Linked DNA regions of Homo sapiens: region 1 is linked to region 2. Evidence: promoter capture Hi-C in 16 types of primary human blood cells and fetal thymus (Javierre and others, 2016). All regions are on one chromosome and are shown on one strand. The core of a region is centred on a gene start or on the middle of the fragment in contact, and the rest is flanking DNA. Distances in the headings are between cores, read along the strand shown.

The links. Contacts are between HindIII fragments. The CHiCAGO score rates a contact against its expected background, and 5 or more counts as called.
Region 1: a fragment that was not itself captured here is called in contact with the fragment with the promoter of RNF133 in region 2 in 1 of 17 cell types (endothelial precursors); the score reaches 5.8 in endothelial precursors.

Annotation. Positions count from the first base shown.
Region 1 is chr7:123,154,121-123,159,051 of GRCh38, reverse strand. The region is part of intron 6 of SLC13A1 (solute carrier family 13 member 1); the gene reads left to right. Among named protein-coding and RNA genes, the nearest start is that of SLC13A1, 43 kb to the left of the region's middle. The HindIII fragment of the contact is 1,862 bases long and covers 1,513-3,374 here.
Region 2 is chr7:122,696,051-122,701,022 of GRCh38, reverse strand. It overlaps RNF133 (ring finger protein 133), which reads left to right and starts at 1,906. Exons shown (of 1, transcript NM_139175.2): 1 at 1,906-3,288. The coding sequence starts at 2,105. The coding sequence ends at 3,235. The region is part of intron 2 of CADPS2 (calcium dependent secretion activator 2); the gene reads left to right. The HindIII fragment of the contact is 4,309 bases long and covers 1,430-4,972 here.

The DNA of each region.
Region 1 (4,931 bases), core at 1,194-3,693, 460 kb before region 2:
TATTATTTTTTAAAATCAGTGCTCTGTAGAGTTATGTTCATATTTATTAATATCTTTGTTCACCATTGTATTTTGCTTCTCAGACCCCCTATCTGGGGTCATGGTCCTTCTTCTTGAATATATCTTTTGAATGTATTTCAGAGAGTGATTTTGGTGTTAAATTCACAGTTTTTGTTTGATAGATTTCTATAATTCTTGAAACATGTTTTTATAGTTATAGTGTGCTAGATAGGTTATTATTTTTTATTTTGCACATTGAAATATATTTATATATTTCTACTGCCTTTTGGCTTTCTTTTTTTCTATTTAAAAGTCAGCTAGCTATCAGTCAAATTATTATTCCTTTGTAGGCAATCTTTTCTCTTTGGTTGCTTTAATGATGTGTGTGTATATGTGTGTGTGTGTGTGATAGAATTTTACTTTGCTATGCCTAAGTGCATATTTCTCCTGAATCTGTGTATTGATCTTTCCCAACAATTCTTGCAAATTATCAGGTGTTATTTCTCAATATTCAATTGCCTCATCCTAGTTCTCTGTATTCTCTCCCTCTGAGTCTCCAATTAAACATTCTGCACTTTCTCACTGTGGTTTCTAAGCTATTTAACATCTATTTTTATGAGTAGTAACTTCTGATTTATATTCCAGCTAGTTAATTTTCTCTTTAGCTATGTCTATTTTGACCTATTTACTGAGCTTTTAAATTGTTATTTAAATTTAATTTATGTAAACTCTATTTGTCTTAAGATTTGCCTGTAACTTTTATAATCTTTTTCATATTTTCAATTGCTTCTCTAATTTTATTAATCATATGTAAATGTAATTATATTTTGTGTCTGTGTCCAACACCTCTGAGGTCCTTGTGGGTCTCTTTCTTTGATTTAGTTTTTATTTATTTATTGCTGGTTCTCATTTTGTTGAATTATTTTCTTGCATGTTCAGTACTTTTAAACATTGAAATTTTTTTTTAGTTACTATGGAAATTCTTTAAGTCCTATGTTGCAGCTTCTTGTAAGAGTTTTCAATTATATTGCTATTTCTCTTTAACACACACATAACATAAATTAGTGCTTTAAGAAAAAATGCTCATGGTTAGGAATTTTTAGGGGATATTGTTTTCCCTTAATTCAGCATGATATTTTCTTTCTGCTTCTGCAAAGGATACCAGCTTTATGTGTATTTTCTTGTATGATTCCCCACACACATTTGGCCTGGAGCAATATCTTTTATACCAAGCTCTCCTTGCAACATGATACACTGAAATCTGAAATCCTATTTTAAATCCAGCTTTAAAATGATTGTTGCACTTTAAAAGATTGTTTTTAATATTTTAAATAGCATCTCATTTAGCATGGGAATCTGATTTGTCATGCTGCTGGATAGAAAAATATGCTATGTTATTATATTTTGTTTCAGTCATTTTTACAACTAGAAAGAGCAAGGTTTTTCTCAGTGGCACACACACACAAACACACATACACATATGCTTTTTCCTAAGAAAGTATAAGGGAAGCTTCTAAATAGTTAACATTTAGGGCAATAAAATTTTTTAAGTAAATATTGGATTTAATCATGACTTTTAACATTTCTGAAAAATAGAGTTTATTTATAAAGAGGCCTCATGTCCTTAATGCTACATTTTAAACATCTCTTTATTCATCACACACAATAAATGTTTATTACTTTATAAACATATCCAAATTCACAATATGTAATAGTTCTTTATTAACTACGGTGGATAAAAATTCTATTTCAGAGTCTTACCGATAACTTCAATTTTACTACCAACTCCTCTGAATTCTTCAGGTTATTACTGATTATATTTTCACTAGATCTTCATGAAGAGTTCATACTAGCTGTAAGGAGAAGATCCTCTCCTACAATTTCTTGCTATTCACTTATCTAGTACTTTCATTCAATAATTTCTTTACAGAAGGATGTGGGGAGAGTTTAGGTATCCCTTGTAAGAAAGCAGAAACACAGGAAAACGTTGCAGAGTGATACTGAGGCCCATCTGAGGTCAGAGGTTGTGGATTTCTCACAGCACCAGCGAGCTTAGCCAAGGGATTTTCTCCAGTGGCATCCAAGAGAGCATAGAAATTGATTTTCATATTAAGCTGAAGTTCAGGGTCCATAAAGATGGGAACAGCAAAATGATAAGCCTGCTGGGATGTTGAAGGCACAGCAGGAGAGTTGTCAGTGATTCATCTGAAGGGATAGGTTTGCCCTGGTAAAGAATGAGGCCTTGAGAAGGTCTAGAAGGACTTGAGCTCCTGATAGGGCCAAAGAGAAGGCATGGAGAAGAAAAAGGATGGGAAAACTAAAGGGATCAACTATTGTGATCAGAGCTTCGTCTAATAAAGAATCCATTATAAAAAAAATTTCTTTACAGAAATAATCTTCTTATAGACATTTTAAACCATTAGAACACTGTAGGAAGGCTGGTTTAATTAAATAACATAATCTGTTATTAACTTAACTGAGGATCTTTAAACTCAACATGCAGACCAAAAGGACAGGTTCCCACTGTCTCAATTCCTCTGTGCACTATGGAACTTCCACTCTCCTGTTCCCTTTTTAGTTACATCATCTACCAACATATGGACCACGAAAGCACCAAGGTCAAAAGTGGGCATTAATTATTAGTAAATATTTATTTCTTTAATTTTGAAATGTAAAAAGATAAATATTGCATCTTCCATTAAGATGGCAGGTTAAATAGGCCCATTTGTTACCACTTTTCTAAGTCTTCATTAAAACAAGAACAAATAGACTTTCAAATATAATCCAAATTATATAAACATCAAGAGAAGACATGACAGCAAAATCATTTTGGAAGCTGGAAAGTAAAAAGATGAGTGGAAAATAACCCCATTATCCCCAGTAATCCCATGGAAGCTGAATCCTAAATCGGTAATGAAAAAAGCCAATAAACAATTCAATTTCCATAGCAGCAGGCTTCAACATTTTTAAAATGCTGAAAAGCAGGAGGAAGAAAAAATTGCTTGTGAAGCAGTTAAATCTTCTACTTTCTTCCTCAAATCCACATGGATGCAACAGCTTCTAATCCACCAAACAGAAATATGATCTTCAGACAAGGTAAAACGGGATAAGGAGAACCAGATCCAGTTCTGGGCTGGGGGAGGGTGTCACAAGGAAAACAGGGGTACTGAGCGATAGCTTACAAGTTGAAAATGGAGAACCCGGCCTTCTACCTACACTGGTCCAGGAGCCAAGTCTATGCCTTTCGGGTGTCAGCAGGCAGAAGGCCAGATGATGCTTCCTTGGAGAACACAATCAGCGTTAAGAGAGATGAAAACATTGACCTTAGAATTTTCTCAAAAAAAGGCCAAGTCAGATGACATTACAGTGAAGCTTACAGGCAACAACAAATCCCAAAATACGAGTGCAGAGCTTCTACACAAATATTCACCGCCTGAAATGTGAGCAGACAACCAAAAATTCCTGGATATCTGATGAAAGCCTCAATTATGAAAGAGAGATTGCCAAATAAATAAAAAGAAAAAAGAGCAATTTGCGGGAAACAGAGACTATGCAAGAAGAAGAGACTATAAAAAAGAAAATATCATTAATATAATCAGAGAGGCAAACAAATATATTACTTGTATTTATGAAATACAAATACAAATAGTATTCTATAAAAGAGAATCAAGAAGGCAAAAATACAAAATATGTAAATATAAAATAAAGTATAAATGTAAAATATAGAGATATAAAAGCATAAATGGAAAATTCAGTAGACAAAACAGAAAGAAACAGAATAAACAGGAAATAAGAGGAGTTTCCAAAAAAGAATAGGAAAAAAGAGAAGAGTATATTAAAAATTCAAGAAAGTTTCTACAATGGAAGAGTACAAGTTTTATGATTAAAGGACTCACTAAATGTCATCAAAATGAATGAAGCAGACCCACACAGGGCAGGTCTGTTTTAAAATCTTTGAGTTTTCAGAATACTATAAGATGACCCTAAAAGCTCTCAAAAAGGAAGAAACACTAATTCCTTACAAAGGATCAAAAATATGAATGACTGAATACTTCTCCCCAGCAGCACTACTCAGAGACAGCAGAAAAACTGCCTTCAAAATTCTAAGTAACATTTATTTCCAACCTAGAGTCAATATCCAGTCAGACTTTTGATGAAATAAGAGGGAAGACTTAAGTCTAGATAGCTCTTTGCAGTTCTAGAGAAAAAATAACTAGGTTTGGGACAGGAAAGGAGGCCCTGAAAGAGATGTCATCAAGACAATAAAATTGGCAGAATATTGATGTGAATTAGGTATCCTATCACTTGATTGTTCTGAGAGAATGTTTAAGCAACCAGGGAATATTTGGGACTGATTCAGTAGTAGGTACTTTAAAAAATAAGCAAGTAAAAGAAGGAAAAGACATATTCTAACTTACAGAAGGGGCAGGAAAAGTAATGTATATCATATTTCTAGCTGTTAATAGAGCTCTAGGCAACATATTGAAAATGTGAAGTCTGTACTATAAGCAACATTATGACAGAGCCATAATTGGAGGATGATACAAAGTATACGTATTCAGTGAAGGAAGCTGTGAAAGAAATCTGCAATCGTTGCCACCAGGTGGCAATAGTGAGTTACATCTGGACCTGCAGGATTTCTGTTGTGACAGGTCCACTGTGATGATGTCATTGGATTCTGCATTCGGTCATGTCCTCATAGGAAATTTTTCAGTTACTTGGAAGAAGATGTGGAAGGCATACTCCACATGTATGGTAGACAGAAGGGATTGAATAAAAACACAATAGGTTACCATTGTGGTAAAAGCAGTATGAAATGGAACTCAAATGTAGTTTTAAAAATTCATAGAAGTAAAGTATTCTGGAAGGCAAGTTGGTACAGGGGAAATTCACTGAGAGAGAACTCACAGACATGGATTCTGCTTTCAAGT
Region 2 (4,972 bases), core at 657-3,156:
ATCTCTGATTCTCCATGGTTAATTAATTTTATTAATACCCAGGAAATCTAGTTTCCAAAGCTACTCACTGGATTGGTAATGTGTTCTAAATAATTATTTTAGATGATAGTACTTTGGATATGTAAGGAAAAGTGTTCTAAATTATTATAGGCTTCATTTAGGATAACATTGCAAACATTCACTTTTGTTTGCCAGAGCTCTTTAAATCCTAGCATAGTGACTCAGCTATGGTAGCAGATTTCTTTTCTAGAAGTGTCCTTAGTAAATGCTTCTCTTTTCCTCTCCAAATGGTAATGAATGTTTCTCTGGGGGCATTTTGATAACATAGGGCAGAGCTAAAATTTTGTTCAATTGCCTTTCGATGTTATATTCTTTGCCTTATTTTGCATCTTCCTTTTTTCTAGTAGATGAATAAACACCTATATAACAATGAGAGACAGAAAGATTTAGGTATTGTTGTATTGATGAAAATTTCTGTTTCTGGATGATATGCTAAACTTTTGATACCTCAGTGTCACTTTGTGAATATACACACCATATACTACCTTTTAAAATGTGCAGGGATGTATGAAAATAAAATCGGATTAATGGCCTTTGGGAGAGAAAATCAACCTTTATGGGTATGTTTTATATCATCAGTATTCTTTTTATACTAGTTTTTGTTGGCCCATAGGGCCCTTTGTTCCTTCATCTTTCTTGTCTCAAATTACCATGTTGTAGATTTACATTTCATAAGAAGTAACAGCTCCTTTAGTCCTGGTGAGTTCCAACCAAAAGTGACTTCTAGCACTTTACGTATGTAGACCAGAGACATTCATGTTCAAGGTCAGAATCTTTGGCCTCGGTTTCCTAGCTGGTGGGAAAAAACCCACTGAGATTCACCGCCAAGAAAGTGTACCAGTAGCAGCGTGGCTGCTTGTGAACTTACTATGCTTGTGAGTCCACATGCCATCCTTTAGCTTTGATGTCATATTGTGCCACTGACATGATTGTGGCAAAAACATAGGCAGAGTGGACAGAGCCTGTGGAATCTTCTAATAGGGATATTTGTTAAGTTCTGCAAAAATGTTTGATAAAAGCATCTACTTATTGCTGCTAATGGTTAACTTTAAGTGTGCACCTTGAAGTTTTTCTTAATAGCTGTTTTTTAAAAAATGAATTGTGCCAAACTAATATGACTATATTTAATCTTTCCCTTGACACCCTTTCTCCTCCTCTTTCAAAATATTGTTTGATTAATAACAGACATCAAAGTCTGCAGAGAAATTAGCTTCCCTAGATATCAGTCCTTTCTTTACTCCTGTCAGTCTTACTACATTTGTACAGTCAATGTAAGACAGAGAAAGTGAGGCAGAAGTAAACTGAGCAGGATCCCTTACTTTAAAACAGCAAAACCATAAAACAAAAGCCACAAACTTCTCAGAAAGCTTAAATTAAATAAATGCAATATAATGGTTTATGTGATGAATCAAAAATTAGCAGTGTGACTTTTACTTTTTGATGTAAAAATAATGTCACTAAGCTCACCACTTTTGCCTCACATCCGGTCACTGCACTAATTTTTAATTATCCTTTTTTTTAGCTTGCCATTTTGTTGGAAATATCTCCTTCACTTGCTGGGAAAATAAAACATTCTTACATGTGCTTTCAGGCTTTAAAGAGCACACATTGTATGAATTTTAGATTTAATTTTTAGTTTAATGTGCTATCTACTACCATTATATGTAGCTCAGTGATTATATCCATCTTATAACAACATAGAAATCACCCATAACAGCATTTAAGCCAATAAATTCACAGTATGCTCTAAGCTCTTATCTAATTGGCTGCTGGGTCTTGCATGTCATAATCACATCACACAATAGTAAGCAGTATCTAGAGTTAACAGTAGGGGATTTATTTTTCAATCTAAAGTTTTTCACCTCTCTCTAGTAAGACATCTGAAACTCATAAGCCATCTTTAAGAATTTCTTACAAAAACATGCTGGAAGACAGTGGATCTTGTTTGTATCCTGAAGATTTTTTTCTCTTCGTTATTTTAAATTAATTGTCAACAGATGTGCAACTGTTAGGTTGGTTCTTAAGTCACTCGGAGAAGAGAGAGATGCATCTACTCAAGGTTGGCACTTGGAGAAACAACACTGCCTCTTCCTGGCTTATGAAGTTCAGTGTTCTTTGGCTTGTTAGTCAGAACTGTTGCAGAGCAAGTGTTGTTTGGATGGCTTATATGAACATATCATTTCATGTTGGGAATCATGTGTTGTCAGAGTTGGGAGAGACTGGAGTCTTTGGAAGAAGCTCCACTTTGAAGAGAGTGGCAGGAGTTATAGTGCCACCAGAGGGAAAAATCCAAAATGCATGTAATCCCAATACCATTTTCAGCCGATCAAAGTACTCAGAGACCTGGCTTGCACTTATTGAACGGGGAGGTTGTACCTTCACACAGAAAATTAAAGTGGCAACTGAGAAGGGAGCCAGTGGAGTGATCATCTATAACGTTCCAGGTACTGGCAACCAGGTGTTCCCCATGTTTCATCAGGCATTTGAAGATGTCGTTGTGGTTATGATTGGTAACTTAAAAGGCACGGAAATTTTCCATTTAATTAAGAAGGGAGTTCTCATTACAGCCGTGGTTGAGGTGGGGAGAAAGCACATCATCTGGATGAATCACTATTTGGTCTCTTTTGTGATTGTCACAACTGCTACCTTAGCATATTTCATCTTTTATCACATTCATAGACTTTGTTTAGCAAGGATTCAGAACCGGAGATGGCAGCGATTAACAACAGATCTTCAGAACACATTTGGACAACTCCAACTTCGAGTAGTAAAAGAGGGGGATGAAGAAATAAATCCAAATGGGGATAGCTGCGTAATTTGCTTTGAACGCTATAAGCCTAATGACATAGTTCGTATTCTGACTTGTAAACATTTTTTCCACAAGAATTGCATTGACCCCTGGATTTTACCCCATGGGACATGCCCCATTTGCAAATGTGATATTCTTAAAGTTTTGGGGATTCAAGTGGTTGTTGAAAATGGAACAGAACCTTTGCAAGTTCTAATGTCAAATGAACTGCCTGAAACCTTATCACCTAGTGAAGAGGAGACAAATAATGAAGTTTCTCCTGCAGGAACCTCAGATAAAGTAATCCATGTGGAGGAGAACCCTACTTCTCAGAATAATGACATCCAGCCTCATTCAGTAGTGGAAGATGTTCATCCTTCACCTTGATGGCATGACTTTTGAGGAAGTGTATTAAACCTGTATGTGAAATCAGGTCCTAATACTGACAAGCAGTTTGTCTGTTTGAAGTGTGGTTTTTGTGTCCTTTTTTGTTACTTCAGTAATTTTATACATTCTTTGTCCAACCTCAAAGATAGCAAAAAAGTCCTAGCGGGATTTTTTTTGTGCAATTTTGGACCTTTGCTAAGTGTAATTTTTTGTCAATGTATGTTACTCCTGTGAGTGTACATATGTATATTTATATGTACACATTCATGTTAAAGCTAAGGACAAACTTATTTTCTTAAATATTTACTGTACATATATTGGGTTCTATTTTGGTAAGAAAATTACTGATATGTAATATGTTCTAATACAGAAAGTATCAATTAAGTTTGAAAACAATAAATTATCTTTTATGTGCTAGGAAGAGTAAAAATTATCTTTTGATAACATATTTATAGTATGTCTTAGTTGTGAGGTTATTGTGCTGTTTTTTTCTTTTGCATTCTTGGCATGAACATTTTACAAAATCTTATTATTCTTATTCTTGATAAATAGTTCTGTTCAAGCAGTTAGTACATTTTTTTTGTGATATGCATCTGTATAGTGAAATTTTAAAATAAAATACTAGCACTCTTTAAGTGAACAGCAACTATTTTAGTGTCCAGTGTTACTTACAATAATTGTTACATATTCATAATACATAGAACGACTTTGATACTTAGTCATGGCAAATTTACTTCCCATGTGTTTCTCCCCACTCCCCAATTTGTTTTCTTAAATAAAATGTTTAATCTATGCCAGACTATTCTTGAAATAAGTGATACAATATAGAAATTATTATTATTATGATATGGTCATGTTTCTTTTGTTCACTATATTCTCAGGGTCCAGCAGAGTTCCTGGCACTCGAGTATTTTTGAATGAATGAATAAGTGAATGATAAATATCTTTGTTGTAATGCAACTATTATGTGTTAATTTGAAAAACTTGACTGTTTTTCCCAATTATACAAAATAACAGAAAATTTTGAAGTTTTTCACTCTAAATTACTTTGAAAAAATATTAAATTATAATTTTAGCCCAGAATTTATTATTACAGTTCAGCATGCATAATTTTAATGAGCAGCTTTGAACTCTAAGGCTAACACTGGGATTTGAATTGCTGCGCAGCCTTGGAGGGTGACCTAGTGAAGAGGAATCTTGTGAGTTGCTCAGTGTTAACAATACTGCAATTCAGACACAGGTAGAAGGGCAGTAGTTAGCTATAACTGCTTCCATGACCATGGGGTCATGGAAGACTAAAGGAGGAGAGACACTAATCTAAGGCCAGGAAGAATCGGCAAAAACTGGGCAAATGACCAGGTGTGAGCCATGCCTTGCTTGGTACACAAAGGCTTTTTTACACACAACTTTAGAGACTTTTGTGTTAATCACAAGAGCTCTTCTTTGAAAGAACTGCATAGCACTGGACTACTGGAGGATTTAGCAGGAACACTAAGTGTTATTTTGAGCTTACCCTGGGAGAGTAAAGTCATTTCCTGAGGGACGAGGGACCACACTGAAGAGAGAGGACACTGAGGACCCCATGACAGCTGTCCCTAAAAGGATAAATTAGCTGCCCACCTAATCAGGATAAATTGTCATTCTTTGGCCACTGTTAATGTTTCTGCCACTAGAGGATAGCAGCGGATGGGGGTGGGGTGGCTAAAGTGATTTCTACCATTTGTCCAAGAAAATCAC